Linked DNA regions of Homo sapiens: region 2 is linked to region 1. The links are contacts of gene promoters, found by promoter capture Hi-C in blood cells and fetal thymus (Javierre and others, 2016). All regions are on one chromosome and are shown on one strand. Each heading gives the region's core, a stretch centred on a gene start or on the middle of the fragment in contact. The rest is flanking DNA. Distances are from core to core; before and after follow the strand shown. Region 1 holds the start of CD79A (CD79a molecule). Region 2 holds the start of ARHGAP45 (Rho GTPase activating protein 45).

Region 1 (7,152 bases), core at 1,078-3,577:
GATCCCCTCGGCTGTGATGATTCGGTTCTTGGTGCCCTCCCCCATGTCCAGGAAGGGCCTGGGGGGCGGCTCTGCAAGGAGGTAGTATGGCTCAGAGCCCTGGCCCCTCTTGCCCTCCCTAGCCTCCTGGCCCCGCCCACCTCCTGCAAGGCCCCAGACCCCCCAGAGACCCCACTCTGCAGAGGAGAATGTCCGTCCCTCTGTCCAAGCCGGTTTGAAACCCACATTGAAGGTACTGGCTCTATCCCCACTTCAAAGATAAACCGAGTGTCCCCAGCGGGACAGTGGGAGTAGGGGCCAGGGCTGGGCCACTCACGGCGCACGCGGAGGTAGGTGCCGCAGGACTGCTGGTATGACTCGTTGCCCTCCTGGACCCGGCACACGTATATGCCCCCATGGCTCTTGTTCACATTCTGGATGATCAGCGTACCATTGGGGTCCTCGCCCGGGCCCAAGAACTCAGGGGGCCACGTGTAGTTGCCATGGAGGACGCGCCACCAGGTGACGTTGGCGTTGTTGCTGCTATTGTGCGGGCATTGGAAGTGGGCGTCTTCCCCCAGGCTCACCATCAATGATGCTGGGACCTTGTGCATCCACAGGGCCTGGCACCCAGGGCCTGTGGAGAGACAGGGTGGGTGGGTCAGGGACTGGGGATGGTGACACATTTCCCCAGCCCTGGCCCCTGCAGTTCCAGCACTCCTGGGAAGAGGGTGAGGACTCTCCTGGGTGGGGAGGGAGAGAGAGAGCCCCTGACAGGGGCTGATACATCCTGGGGAGAGGGGGGATGCGGGAAAGTGAAGAAGCCCCTGGGAAGGAGAGAGGACATACCTGGTTGGGGTGGGTGAGGATATCCTGGGAGAGGAGAATGAGACTCCCTGGGATGGTAAGACCCCTGGGAGGCCCTTCTCACCTCTGCAGCGCCATCTCTTGCCCCCCTCCCGCATACCCACTTTGTACTCTGGCCCTGTGAACTCTCTGGATTTTGGATGTTTGTTCCAGGCACTGGAGGACCGCTGTCCAGACAGCTCCTTCCAGAAGCAGTGCAGGCGTCCCCTCCTCCCGCAGCCTTCCCGGTCCATTTTTGCACCCCAGCCTCAGCCAGGCCCAGCACCTGGCGCTTTTTCTTGTGTAATCATTCACAGAACCCTAGAAGTAGGTTCTCTCCTTAGCCCCATTTTACAGGAGGGATGGCTGAGGCTCTGGGAGGGCAGGCGGGTTGCCAGCATCACCAGGCAGTCAGGAGTGGCACTGGGTTCAAACTCTTGGCTCCCTGGCCTCTCCCTGCCTGGGCTGAGGAGCCAGTCTGTGGCCTGCCCTGGCCTGTGACCCTGTGCCTGGCCCTCATTCTCTGTAAGTTGTATGTGTCAACCTAGGGGTCAGGGGTGAGTTCAGTCCTTGGGCTGGGCTGCTGGTGATTGAAGGGGCTCAGAGCGGGGTGGAGACTGGGGGTGTCTCTGAGTGAGACGAGGCGGCTCAGGCTGGCTGCAGTGTCCAATCCGGGCTCCTCTGGGAAGCCCCAGCTCTCAGCCAGGCCTCCCACATGGCCAGTCCCCTCTTCTGGAGGTAGGTGGAGGAGGGAGGTGAGGAAGAGAGAAGGAGGAAGAGATGGGGAGAGGGGCCGAGCACCCTCATCGTCACGGGCTTAAGACTCAGACGTGAACTCCAATCCTTGCTCCCAGTGTCCCCTTGGGTGGGGAACCTTTTTCTCTGAACTCCTGGGTTAGCGTGGCCACAGCCCCTGCCAGCTGTCCTTGAGCAGGTGAGGGGGAGTCCATGAGACACCCATTCCCCCAGTGCTGAGAAGGGACTCCCAACAGAGAGAGGCACCTGAGGTTTAAGGCAGAGAAAGCTTTTTCTCCCCTTGACAGACGCTGAATGCTGCTACCCCTAAGTCCCCTTCCTGCCCCCAGCCCTGGTGCTCAGTCAAGAGCAACTTTAGTTCCTTATTTTGGCCTGTGGGGAACAGGAGGTGGGGGAGGTGACTCTTGCTCCTGCCTCCCTGTGTGAGACTGTGGACGCCCCTTCTCCTTCGCTGGGCTCCCTCCAGCCCCACCTTGGCCCATCTTGGCACAGATACGATTTCTATAGGCATCTTCCCTGGGTCCCCTATCCTCTGCCTCCTCTTCCCCTTTCCCTGAGCCCCCTTCCCTCTGCCTGTGCCCTCTCTGCAGCCTCCACAGCTTCCCCCACCTCCCGCCAGTTCCTGCCCTTTGGCCACATACCCAGGTAGACAGCAGACAGCAGGAAGAGGAGGAAGATGGTGGCAGGCAGAGCTTGGAGGACTCCTGGACCCCCAGGCATCTTCTCCCAGTGGGTTGGTTAGTTTGAGTTGCAGCAGTCCCAGGGTACCAGATCCCTACCCCAAACCCCACCCTACTTCCTGCCCAGCCCCCCGGAGATGGGCTCCAGTGGCCCTCGCTACTGGGCCCTTTGCTTGTTGGGCCTGGGGACAGCCCCTGCCGGGTATGCTTCAGGCTGTGAGTGGAGAGAAACTGCTCCCTGCACCTGTGGTGGCCACAATTCCCCTGAGAGGTGGCTGCTTGGGTGGGGGAAGAGGCTGGTTCAAGGGCTGGCTCGTCACTGCTGAGCCTTTGGAAGGAAGCCTAGGGAACCTGAGTCCTGGGCATGTGTCATGGGCAGGTGATGGTTCTGAGCTTGACCTCTCCCCCTGCCTGGACTTGGGCAAACCTTGTCCCTTCCCTGACCCCATTTCCTTGCTTCTTGGGATTAGAAACAAGGACTTAAAGGGGTTGTCACATGCACAGAAATGGCCCACAGTAGGCGCCCAGTAAATGTTAGTCACTATAAATACTCATGAAGAATAAATAAGGCAGGCTGACCTGTGGCTGACTACCCGTGTGACTAGGTGGGCACTTTGATCCTTCGAAGCTTGACATTTTTCATCTGTGAGATGAGGACCAGAATGTCTCCCTGTCTCATTATGTGATACGAGATGGTGTTCCTGGTATTCAAGGAGTGAGAACCATGATCAGCTCTTTACTGGAATTCTTTTTTTAAAAAAACAGGCCAGCTATGGTGGCTTATGCCTGTAATCCCAGCCCTTTGGGAGGCTGAGACAGGAGAATCACCTGAGGTCGAGTTTGAGACCAGCCTGGCCAACATGGCGAAACCCCATCTCTACTAAAAATACAAAATTAGCCAGATGTTGTGGCACATGCCTATTATTCCAGCTACTCAGGAGGCTGAGGCAGGAGAATCAGTTGAACCCAGGAGGTGGAGGTTGCAGTGAGCTGAGATCACACCATTGCACTCCAGCCTGGGTGACAAAAGCGAAACTCTGTCTCTAATAATAACAATAATAACAACAACAACATATATTTTTCTTCTTTTTTTTTTTTAAGAGGGATGGGATCTTGCTATATTGCCCAGGCTGGTCTTGAACTCCTGGCCTCAAGCAATCCTCCTGCCTCAGCTTCCCAAAGTGCTGGGATTACAGGCATGTGCCACTGTGCACAGCCAGAAGTTGTTTTATATTGACCTGCCATGACTGGCAAGGTAGGCCATCCCCCATTTTACAGAGGGGGAAACCGAGGCCAGAGAGGGGAGGTTGTCACTTGCGGGTGTCATACAGTCTAGGGGTGGTGGACAGAGATTCAAAGTCATCTTTGTGTTGCTCCCAGTTTCCTTTGAGCATGTCTGGTAGGAGGGAAATGAGGTCTGAGTGGGGAGGGCGGAGTTGCTGAGATATTTGTGAGCAGTTAGGGGACCCTCACACACATACAAGGGGATATATAAAATAAATTTATTGCAGGGAGATTTTTGGTAGCAAACATTGAGAAGCAAATGAAAAGTCCATTTGTGGGAGAATGGGTGCATACACTGTGGCAAAGTGAGCCAACAGAATGCTACAGAATAGGGGAAGGTGTCATAAGGCTGTCTCAGAAACAGCACAAACATCAGAAAAAATATCGTAGCATGATACAGTTGACTTGTTTTCAAAAGGCGTCCGCTGCTTAGGGACACACGTTTGTAGCAGAGGTGTAGACCCGTGCAGGGGAGTGGCAAACGCCCAGTTCCTGGGAGGGGTTACCTCTGGGGGACGCCAGGGTTGGGTCTGGGGAGGGACACACAGAGACACAGAGAGCTCATCTTGTCTTGGTTTTATTTCCTGTGTTACTTTTTTTTTTTTTTTTTTTGAGACGGAGTCTCGCTTTGTCACCCAGGCTGAAGTGCAGTGGCGTGATCTTGGCTCACTGCAACCTCTGCCTCCCAGGTTCAAGTGATTCTCCTGCCTCAGCCTCCTCAGTAGCTGGGATTACAGGCGGCCACCACCATGCCTGGCTATATTTTTGTATTTTTAGTAGAGACCAGGTTTCACCATGTTGGGCAGGCTGGTCTCACACTCCTGACCTCAGGTAATCCACCCACCTCAGCCTCCCAAAGTGCTGGGATTACAGGCGGGAGCCACCGTGGCTGGCCACTTTTTTTTTTTTCTTTTTTAGAGATAGGGCCTCTCTCTGTCACCAAGGCTGGTGTCCAGTGGCATAATCATAACGTCAAACTCCTGGGCTCAAGTGATTCTCTTGCCTCAGCTTCCCAAGTAGCTGGGATTACAGGTGCACACACCATGCCTGGCTATTTTTAATTTTTTTTTTCTTTTGAGACAGAGTCTCGCTGTGTAGCCCAGGCTGGAGTGCGATGGTGTGATCTTGGCTCACTGCAACCTCCGCCTCCCGGGTTCAAGTGATTCTCCTGCCTCAGCCTCCTGAGTAGCTGGGACTACAAGCAGATGCCACCATGACCGGCTAATTTTTTGTATTTTTTTAGTAGAGATGGGGTTTCACCGTGTTAGCCAGGATGGTCTCAATCTCCTGACCTGATGATCCACTCGCCTCGGCCTCCCAAAGTGCTGGGATTACAGGCATGATCCACCGCACTGGGCCTATTTTTTAAATTTTTTGTAAAGACAGGGTCTCACTGTGTTGCCCAGGCTGGCCTGGAAGTCCTGACCTCAAGTGATTCTCCCAGCTTGGCCTCCCGAAGTGCTGGGATTATAGGCACTGCACCCTGCCCTGCCTGTGTTACTTAAACTGGGTTGTGCTTCATAGGTTTTTCTTACATTATGAATACTGAATGCTAAATACTTGCATGCCTGAAGTATTTCAGATTTTTTTTTTTGAGATGGAGTCTTGCTCTGTTGCCCAGGCTGAAGTGCAGTGGCGGCACAATCTTGGCTCACTGCAGCCTCCGCCTCCTGGGTTCAAGCTGTTCTCCTGTCTCAGCCTCCCAAGTAGCTGGAATTACAGGTGTGCACCACCATGCCCAGCCAATTTTTTTTTTCATAGACACAGGGTTTCACCATGTTGGCCAGGCTGGTCTCAAACTCTTTTTTTTTTTTTTTTTTGAGACGGTGTTTCACTCTTGTCGCCCAGACTGGAGTACAATGGTGCAATCTTGGCTCACTGTGACCTCCACTTCCTGCATTCAAGCGATTCTCCTGCCTCCACGTCCAGCTAATTTTTGTATTTTTTAGTAGAGACAGGGTTCCATCATGTTGGCCAGGCTGGTCTCGAACTTCTGACCTCAGGTGATCCACCTGCCTCGGCCTCTCCAAGTGTTGGGATTACAGGTGTGAGCCACCACTCCAGGCCAAGGTCTCAAACTCTTGACCTCAAGTGATCTGCCCACCTCTGCCTCCTAGAGTGCAGAATTTTAAAAAAGTGCAATTGCCAGCTGGGCGCGGTGGCTCACGCCTGTAATCCCAACACTTTGGGAGGCTGAGGCGGGCGGATCAGAAGGTCAGGAGATCAAAACCATCCTGGCTAACACAGTGAAACCCCGTCTCTACTAAAAATACAAAAATTAGCCGGGCATGGCGGCGTGTGCCTGTAGTCCCAGCTGCTGGGGAGGCTGAGGCAGAATGGCGTGAACCCAGGAGATGGGAAAAGGGCAATTCCCATCCACGCAGAAGAGCCTGGGCCTCAAGAGTCCAGGATTCTTTTACAACTCAGCTCTGCCAACTGACTGGTCATCTGAAACTCAGTTTTTTCTCCTATAACATGGGTACAAACCCCCCACTTGATAAGACTGCAAGAATATTCTGCAGTGCATTTGGCACAGTATCTAGGACAGTTCTGTAGCCCTGGGAACCAGGACCCCAGGTGTTCTGCTGGGGTCACTAGCCCCTCTGCACTTCAATTCCCCGTTACAACCCCCTCCCAGGAATAAGCCTGGCTCCAGACCTGGAAGCCCTAGGAATTCACCTTCAAGAGCCTTCGGTGGCTGAGCTTCTTTCTAGGCCCTCTACTGCTCCCCAGTGGCTGGAGCGGCGCGGCTGCGGGATTGCAGGCCTGCTCGGGACACCTAGACCTTGCTTCCTACCTGGGAAGCGCAATGCCTGCTGCTGTGCAAACCGGACGCTTGGCATTGAGTTCTCATGTCAGCTCTGGGAAATGTTTTCATTAATGGCCAAAAGAGGAAACTAGAGCCCAGAATGGGGAGTGACTGGCCTGCAGCTAGAGTGCAACCCTTTGGGCCTCTTTTCTGAGGCACAGAGCCCTTGGAGTGGCTAGGTCCAGGCTGCAGCTGGGTTGCTTGGGTTCATATGATGGCTCCAGCTGTGGGATATCTGGCAAGTTACCCAGCCTATGGCTTACTTTACCTACCTCCAAAGCACTTTTCGGCACTTACTTCACAGAGTTGCTGAGTGTAAACAACGGTGCTTTTAACATTTTTATTGATTCTTTTTTTGAAATGGAGTCTCGCTCTGTTGCCCAGGCTGGATTGCAATTGCTCGATCTCAACCCACTGCAACCTCCGCCTCCGGGGTTCGAGCGATTCTTCTGCCTCAGCCTCCTGAGTAGCTGGGATTACAGGTGCGCGCCACCATGCCCAACTAATTTTGGTATTTTTAGAGACAGGGTTTCTCCATGTTGGTCAGGCTGTTCTCAAGCTCCCAACCTCAGGTGATCAGCCCGTCTCGGCCTCCCAAAGTGTTGAGATTACAGGTGTGAGCCACTGTGCCTGGCCGATACTTCTTAAACTCTTACGCCTTACGTTTGGGGACTGCCAACTGAACTGTCCAGCAGCAGAGCTACTCAGAGCCAAGGCTCTCCACGGCATCTTGTCCAGTCTCTCAGGAGTTAGCAGGCTTACACACGAGGAGACGAAGGCTCAGAGGATAAGGTGCAC
Region 2 (7,493 bases), core at 4,994-7,493, about 41 Mb after region 1:
AGGGAGCTTGTGCCTGTCAAACTCCTATGCATCCTTCAAAACCCACTTCAAACATCCCCTCCTCCAGGATGCCCTTCTAGGCAGAGAGCCCTCGCAGCCCTGTTCCAGCAGGCTGACCTTTGACCTTGGCAATGAGGGTGCCGGCTGCGGTGAGCGTCTCCACGGTGTTCAGCAGCGGGTACTTGGAGATGATCTGATGCATGACACGCAGAGCCTCACCCAGGCACTCGTGGGCCCGCGGGCGGCGGGCCTCAAGGAGGTCTGCTGGGGAGAGTCGGAGTGAGCAGTGGGGTAGGGCCCAGTCCCAGGGAAAGTCTGTCCACCTCCTCCCTCTTTAGAGCTCCTGTTCCCAGATGGGGAAACTGAGGCAGAGGTGGAAGACGGCAGATGCCTGGGGCTCATTTCGAGACCGCGGGGAGGGCACTGTCCCTCCCTGGGCTACCGGCCAGATCAACAAAGGCCAGACGTTGGCCTAGGCACTCTGCTGCTCAGAACACTCTTTTCTTGTCCCTCCAGAAAGCAAACTGCCTCTTGTCCTTCAAGCTACAGTCCTGCAGCCCCTTCCTCCATGCAGCCCACCAGGCTCCTTCCCTGCCCTAACTCCTCAGGACTGCTCAAAGCCCTGTCCAGGTCTCTCTCTGCCCTTCCTAAGTGAGGAAACTGAGGCATAGAGAGGGGAAGCCATTTCTCAACAATCACACAGCTTTTCCATCTACGCTAGCTCTGAAGGCGTGAGAACGCCAGGCAGAGGGATCCTGCCTGGCTTTATCTCCAGGGCAATAGGGAGCCATAGAAGGTGTTAGAACAGAGGAGGTCAGATCTGACTGTTGGAACCTGGCTTTCACTGCCCTCCTCAGCCAGGGGTGGTGGCTTACACCTGTGACCCCAGCACTTTGGGAGGCTGAGGCAGGAGGACGGGTTGAGCCCAGGAATTCAAGACCAGCCTGGGCAATACAGTAAGACCCTGTCTCTGTAAGAAATAAAATAAAGAATAAAAAGCTAAATGCCCTCATCGAACGTTCTCAATTGGAAGAAGAAAAAAGCAGAGAGGGCCAAGCACAGTGCCTCATGCCTGTAATCCCAGCACTTGGTGAGGCCGAGGCAGGCAGATCACTTGAGGTCAGGAGTTTGAGACCATCCTGGCCAACATGGCGAAACCCTGCCTCTACTAAAAATACAAAAAGTAGCAGCGTGGTGGCACTCCTCTGTAATGCCGGCTACTCGGGAGGCTGAGGCAGGAGAATCGCTTGAAGCTGGGAGGCGGAGGTTGCAGTGAGCCGAGATCGCGCCACTGCACTCCAGCTGGGTGACAGAGTGAGACTCCTCCATCCCAAAAAGAAAGGAAAGAAAAGAAAGAAAGAAAAGGAAAGAAAAGAAAAGAAGGAAAGAAAAGAAAAAAGCAGAGAGTACAGGCGAAACATCGAGAGCCAGGCACACACCACGTAGTGGAAACAAACCCACGGAATTCGTAGGAGGGGAAAGGTACCCGGGAGGACAGAGGCCAGCGGGAGGGGCAGCTTTGACGCCTGACTGTACCGCTCAGAGGATGCCCCAAATACGAAATGAAATCTGAAAAAGTAAGTGCCCCATCCCTTTCGGCACCGAAGACCCCAGGTGAATGTCACCTCCGGGAAGAGACCGACCGAGTCACCCGCCAGAGATACCCCGCTGGCCGCCGCCGGGCCTGAGACCCCGGACCGGAACATGTCTTCGCTGCTGGATGCGAGGCGGACTCCGGGAATGGGATTGGGGCTCCAGGAGCTCCGGGAAGCCGCTGGGAGGCCCCGGCCACGCCCCTTCTCGGGACCTTCCAGCCGGGCACCCGGCACTCCGCGCGCGGCCGGCGCACGGACCCCCGGCTGTCCCCGCACACCCCCTACCCGGGAAGCCGGCGGCCGGCGCGACCCCTGCGCAGCGCAGGGATGCCCAGGTGCGCACGGCCAGGCCAGGCGCGCGGCAGCCGCTGCTCCCCCACCGCGGGCGGCAAACGGCCCGAGCGCCACGTGCTCCCGGACGCGGCGGGACCCAGCGCCCGGCACCTGTCCCCTCACCTCGGGGGCCCGCCCGGCAGCGCACGGGGCCCTCGTCCAGCACCGGGTGCGCCGTCCCGCAGATACACATGGCGCAGCCGTCGGGGCGCGGAGACCGCGAGCGCGTGGGGCCTGGCAGCTGACCGATGGGGGTCTCCGGTGGCCAAACCGGCTCCGGCCGGTCAGGAGGCCCCGCCCCCGCGAGGGAAACCCCGCCCTGGGGTCCCGTTCGCCCCAGCCTGGGTCCTTCCTTAACCGCAGAGCTTCGAGGTGGGGAGGGTCGAGGACGGGCAGGGAAACTGAGGCCCAGACCTGAAGCCCGGGAACGAGGAAGCCCGGGAAGTGTCGGGGTGGCACCGTCCATGTGGGTCCCCTCCTAGCTGCCTGAACGCGGGTCCCCAAGCTGTGGGGTGGACCCCACAACCATCGCTGCATGCAGGTGGCCCCATTTTATAGATAAGTCACCTGACACCTAGAGAGGGAAGGGGCTTGCCAGGGTCTCAGCAGCTGAGAAACATCGGGACTAGAGCCCACATCCTAGCCGCCAGGGTCTTCTCTGGCCTGGGGCGGCCCCGAGACGCACAGAAGGCGCCCCCAGCCGGGCGCGGTGGATCAGGCCTGTTATCCCAGCACTTTGGGAGGCGGAGCCGGGAGAACGGTTTTTAGCTCGGGAGTTCTAGACCAGCCTGCGCAATATGGGGAGACCCCGGTCTCTACAAAAAATACAAAAACTGGCCGGGCGCGATGGCTCACGCCTGTAATCCTGGCGCTTTGGGAGGCCGAGGTGGGTGGATCACTTGAGATCAGGAGTTCAAGACCAGCCTGGCCAAAATGGTGAAACCCCATCTCTACTAAAAAAAAAAAAAAAAGAAAGAAAAAAAATTAGCCGGGCACGGTGGCGCGCCCCTGCAATCCCAGCCACTCGGGAGGCTGAGGCAGAAGAACCACTTGAACCCAGGAGGTGGAGGTTGCAGTGAGCTGAGATCTCGCCCCTGCACTCCAGCCTGGGTGACAGAGTGAGACTCTGTCTCAAAAAAAAAAAAAAAAAAAGAAAAGAAAAGAAAAAGAAAGAAAAAAAGAAAAGCCCGGGCACGGTGGCTCATGCCTGCTGTAATCCCAGCACTTTGGGAGGCTGAGGCATGCGGATCACGAGGTTAGGGGTTTGAGACCAACCTGGCCAATATGGTGAAACCCCATCTCTACTAAAAATACAAAAATTAGCCAGGTGTGGTGGCACGCACCTGTAGTCCTAGCTACTCGGGAGCCTGAGGCAGAAGAATCACTTGAACCCGAGAGAGGAAGGTTGCAATGAGCCGAGATCGCGCCACTGCACTCCAGCCTGGGCGACAGAGTGAGACTCCATCTCACCATCTCAAATAAAATAAATAAAATAAAATAAATCAGGTGCAGTGGCTCATGCCTGTAGTCTCAGGTACTCGGGAGGCAGAGGTAGGAGGATGGCTTGAGCCCAGGAGTTCAAGGTAACAGTGAGCCTCAATCACACCACTGGACTCCAGCCTGGGCAACAGAGCAAGACCCTGTATCAAAAAAAAAAAAAAAAAAGTGCCCCACCCTGGCTGGCCCAGTTCAGACCTCCTGCAGGAGCCTGGGAGCTGAGCCCCGCCCAGGCCAGGCCTCCAAGGAAGCGCCAGGATCGGAAAGGAACCGAGATTAGGGTTTCCCCAGGAAAGCAGCCTAGCCCCCGCCCCTGGGACCAGATAACCCGGGGGCTCCCACTCCTCCCAGTGGGGACCGGGCCTTCCCCAACTAGTGCCCTGAAGGTGCAGAGGCCACTCCACCACTTGAGGTCCAGTCCTGGCTCTGCCCTGCCCTGGCTGGGTGAGCCAGGGGTCAGGGCCTCACTAGAGACTTAGTTTCGTCATCTGTAAAATGGGCGGCTGCTGGGAGCAGATCAGAGCGCCTGGCATGACCCTGGCACTGTGGTTTCTGGGAGGAGCCGGGGGCTGAAGGCAGCACATGAGGTGCCCGCCTGGGCTGCCAGGGACAAACAGGAAGCAGATGAAAATAACTCGGCAGGAAGCAGGGCTGTCAGCGGCCGCGTGGAGGAGAAAACGGAACTGCCGGCCTGCAGGCCGCTGGGTCCCAGCACCTCCGCCGCCTGATGACCCCATCCTGCCCCTCGCCATGCCTCCTGAATCTCTCTCCACCCAGACCTCAGCCAACCCCCAGTTTGCTTCATTCCAAGACACAGATCTGCCCCCATCTGTCCTGTGCTCTAACACCTTCTATGGCTCCCCATTGCCCTTCTGCCTGGCGTTGTCATGCCTTCATCCTACACCAGCGGCACCCCACACCTTGGCCCCCAAATGCATTCTCTGTTTCCGTGTTTCTGAGCCTGTGCATGGGACATTTCCTCTGCCTTTCCCTCCTAATTGCCATCAGATCCTTTAAAAAAAATAAAGTGGGCACCCTCTTGAGCCAGTGTACGCTCAGGGACTCCCCCACCAAACTCCTACACATCCCTCAGAGCCTTAGCTGTCATGGCCTCTTCCACACAGCCCTCCCTGCCATCTGAGCCTCCCTCCCTTCTGAGCCTCCCCAAGTCCCTCCCTCCATCCTCCCTTGGGTCTGGCTCTGTCTTCCACCCAGGCCTCGGTGTCCCCGTGGCTCTCACCGTCACGCAACACACACTCCTTAAGTTTCTCAAGGCCCTCAGCGAAGCGGGCCACGTCCGCCAGCAGATGGGAGATGTCCTCGACGACGTCCGGGCCGGCACCCTCGGTGGGCAGCTCGCCCGGGCTGGCGGCTGTCAGTGGGCTCCGGTGGCTCCGGCCCAGTGTCCAGGAGGCAGCACCCGACAGGGGGAAGCCAGCCGCGCTGGCGTGGCGGCTCAGGCTGGTGGGCCGCTTGAGGGTCCCTGTGGCCTTGACGCCGGAGGACCCAGCGGGCGGCTCCAGGCTTGGTCCGGGGAACACCGCGTCAGCCCCATCCTTCCTGGGCAGCTCCTTGGGCAGGTCCGAGGGGAGCTCGTTAAAGGGATTTTCCGGCCTGGACACGGCCTCAGTTTCCCCAGAAATGAAGTGGGGCTGTGGAGGGCCACCATCACCCTGACCCCACAGGGGTCAAAGGCCAGAGGTCACAGGGCCGAGATTTGGTAGTGTACCCCCCCACCTGTTACCCAACATCCTCTTCCCTAGAGCTTTCACAAACAACGGTCCTTGCCCAAACCACAGCCGGGGCGGGGCCTGCGGGGAGGCGCGGGAGGGGGGTCCCCACTTCCTGGTGGGGGTGGGGAGGGTCCTCAGCCCTTCAAGCCCCCCTCAGGCTCCTACAACGCAGGTGCTTTAAGTGAACACACTTCTGACTCTGTCTGTCCCCTAAAGGTCCATGGAACCCCAGAGCCTATGGGCAGCCCCAGGCCTTGTAGACATCCCGGACCCCCAAGCTCTGTAGACCCCCCCCCCAGCTTTGTAGACACCCCAGGCCTGGGGACACTCCCCAACCTCTGAACCTGGTGGATCCCATTAGAGGATCTGCTGCCCGGTCAACCTTCAGCCCAATGGCCAGGCCACAGCCCTCCCATCTCAACGGCCCCTAGAGCCCCCAGATTGCCTAAGCCCCCAACCTGCAGCGGCCCAAACACAACATCGTCCCAACCCGGCACCCTCCCTTCCTGCTCCCTGGGCCCCGCGGCCAGCCCTGGATGGAGTGGAGGGAGGCGGCCACCACTCCCAGGGTCCCTACCGTGAGCTGAATGCCGGGGTCCCGGCCTCTCTGCTGTGGCCCCTGCCGTCCCGCCCGGTAGGGGCTGTAGCTGGCACGAGCCCCCAGCCGCCGCCCCAGCATGAGCCCCGAGCACAGGGCGGGTCCCTGTCCCCCTGCGGCCCGGCGTCAGCTCCGGGTCTCACCCGGGCTCCACTCACCCCCGAGGGCTGCGGGCTGGGGCTTCCCGCGCGGTTCTTTTTCGAGATGGAAGGGGTTTTCATGAGCTCTCGTTTCTTCCTGGAGAACATGATGGGGCCCCGGCCGGGAGCCCGAGGGGGCGGGCTGGGGGTCTCAGCGCTGCAGCTCCCGGCGCTGGCCGCTTCGGGACCACATTGTCGCCGGCCACCCCCTCCCCAGCTGTCAGGCCCACGTGACAGGCCCGGCCGTCACTGGCGGGCCCTCCCCCCAACAGGAAAAGGCTTCGGGGAGGCGGCGACGCGGCCTCGCCCCCGACCCTTCCCGGCCTCAGCCTGCGGCTCTGCGGAGTGGGCGCGAAGGTGAGGTCGCAGGCCCCGCCCCCAGCCCCGGGCCGCGCCCCCCGCTTCCGCCTTCGGGAGCTCGGAGCCGCGCCGCTCGCGGGGTGGGACCGGGAGCCCCTGCCTGACGCTGGCGGGCACGGGGCGGCCGACTGCAGGGCGCTGACTCTCACTCCCGGACGCGAGTGGGCGTGCACAGACACGTGCACGATGACACGCAGAGACCCGGACCTCCACACGCGCTCAGACGCCACCAAGCCCCTGGAGCCTCGCCCTCAGACCCCAGACACACGCACAGGCCGAAGCTGCGCCCCTGCAGCCCCCTTTTCCCTGAAGGCAAGCCCGCTCCACCGCCTCTCCTGCAGACCCTAGGGTGTGGCCGGGCCCCAGCAGGGCCGGGCAGAGTAGGGTCCCCCCCATCACCCGCCCTGCAGCCCCGTGAAGTGGGTCAGGTCGAGGACAGGTGGGGAAACTGAGGCCCAGAACCGAAACCCTGGGGGCAAAGACGTCCAGGAAGTCAGAACAATCCAGGTTACCGGGCCCTGTCCGTCTGGGTCCCCACGTCCGTCTGGGTCCCCACGTCCACCTGGTCCTGGGCTGCCTGCACAGGGGTCCCCAAAGTGTGGTGTGGACCCCACCATCGGCAGAATATGCTGAGGACACCTGGTTACCTCTCAGCAGCCCTGTGGGCCATATCATGTTGCCCCAGACCTGCCCTTAGCTAAGGTCCCCAGCCCCGCCTCCCAAGCTGCATTCCAGTGACTCTGGACCACCGGACGTGCTGGGCAGCAGGACGCAGGCACCCGTTGCTGATAACAGCCTGAGGCGGCATTGGCCAAGAGCTGGGGCATCTGCAGGCATACAGATCCCAGCCTCCTACCTTCCCCCAACCCCCACCCCGCAGTGTGAACTCTCTCCCCCCTCCCCAAGTCTCCCTGCTGTCCCCTTCCAGAACCCCACCCCCAATCCCAAAACCCCAACCTCTTTCCTTTCCCAAACCCCATTCCCACCTACCTCGGGTGGGAGGGGCAGATCTCTGGGGCACAGGACATGAAGGCCACAGCCCCTTGCTCCAAGTCTGGCTCTCCAGGCCCAGGTCCAAGTGCAAACCCAGCCCAGCAGACCCTTGAGAACTCTTTGCCCCCGACTCATGGCGCTGAGGGCTGGGGTCAGAGGGTGAGGGTCAGCTGGATGTCGGATGGGCTTCTGGCCCGGCCCTGGCCTGTGCTCCGGGACACCGGGCTCCTGTAAGCTTCCCAGG

Evidence for each region. The method cuts DNA at HindIII sites, captures the fragments that hold promoters and counts their contacts. A CHiCAGO score of 5 or more calls a contact.
Region 2: the fragment with the promoter of ARHGAP45 here is called in contact with the fragment with the promoter of CD79A in region 1 in 1 of 17 cell types (non-activated CD4 T cells); the score reaches 5.9 in non-activated CD4 T cells.

The regions. Positions count from the first base shown.
Region 1 is chr19:41,872,454-41,879,605 of GRCh38, reverse strand. CD79A (CD79a molecule) reads right to left here and starts at 2,327. Exons shown (of 5, transcript NM_001783.4): 1 at 2,223-2,327; 2 at 317-616; 3 at 1-71. The coding sequence starts at 2,301. RPS19 (ribosomal protein S19) reads right to left here. Exons shown (of 6, transcript NM_001022.4): 6 at 6,681-7,152. RefSeq lists a silencer at 2,126-2,185 and enhancers at 3,593-3,662, 5,998-6,247. The HindIII fragment of the contact is 1,040 bases long and covers 1,852-2,891 here.
Region 2 is chr19:1,065,917-1,073,409 of GRCh38, reverse strand. It overlaps ARHGAP45 (Rho GTPase activating protein 45), which reads right to left and starts at 6,243. Exons shown (of 23, transcript NM_012292.5): 1 at 5,915-6,243; 2 at 4,666-4,996; 3 at 118-261. The coding sequence starts at 6,004. RefSeq lists enhancers at 3,944-4,103, 6,294-6,800 and silencers at 4,494-4,593, 5,124-5,363, 5,674-6,433. The HindIII fragment of the contact is 10,211 bases long and covers 1-7,486 here.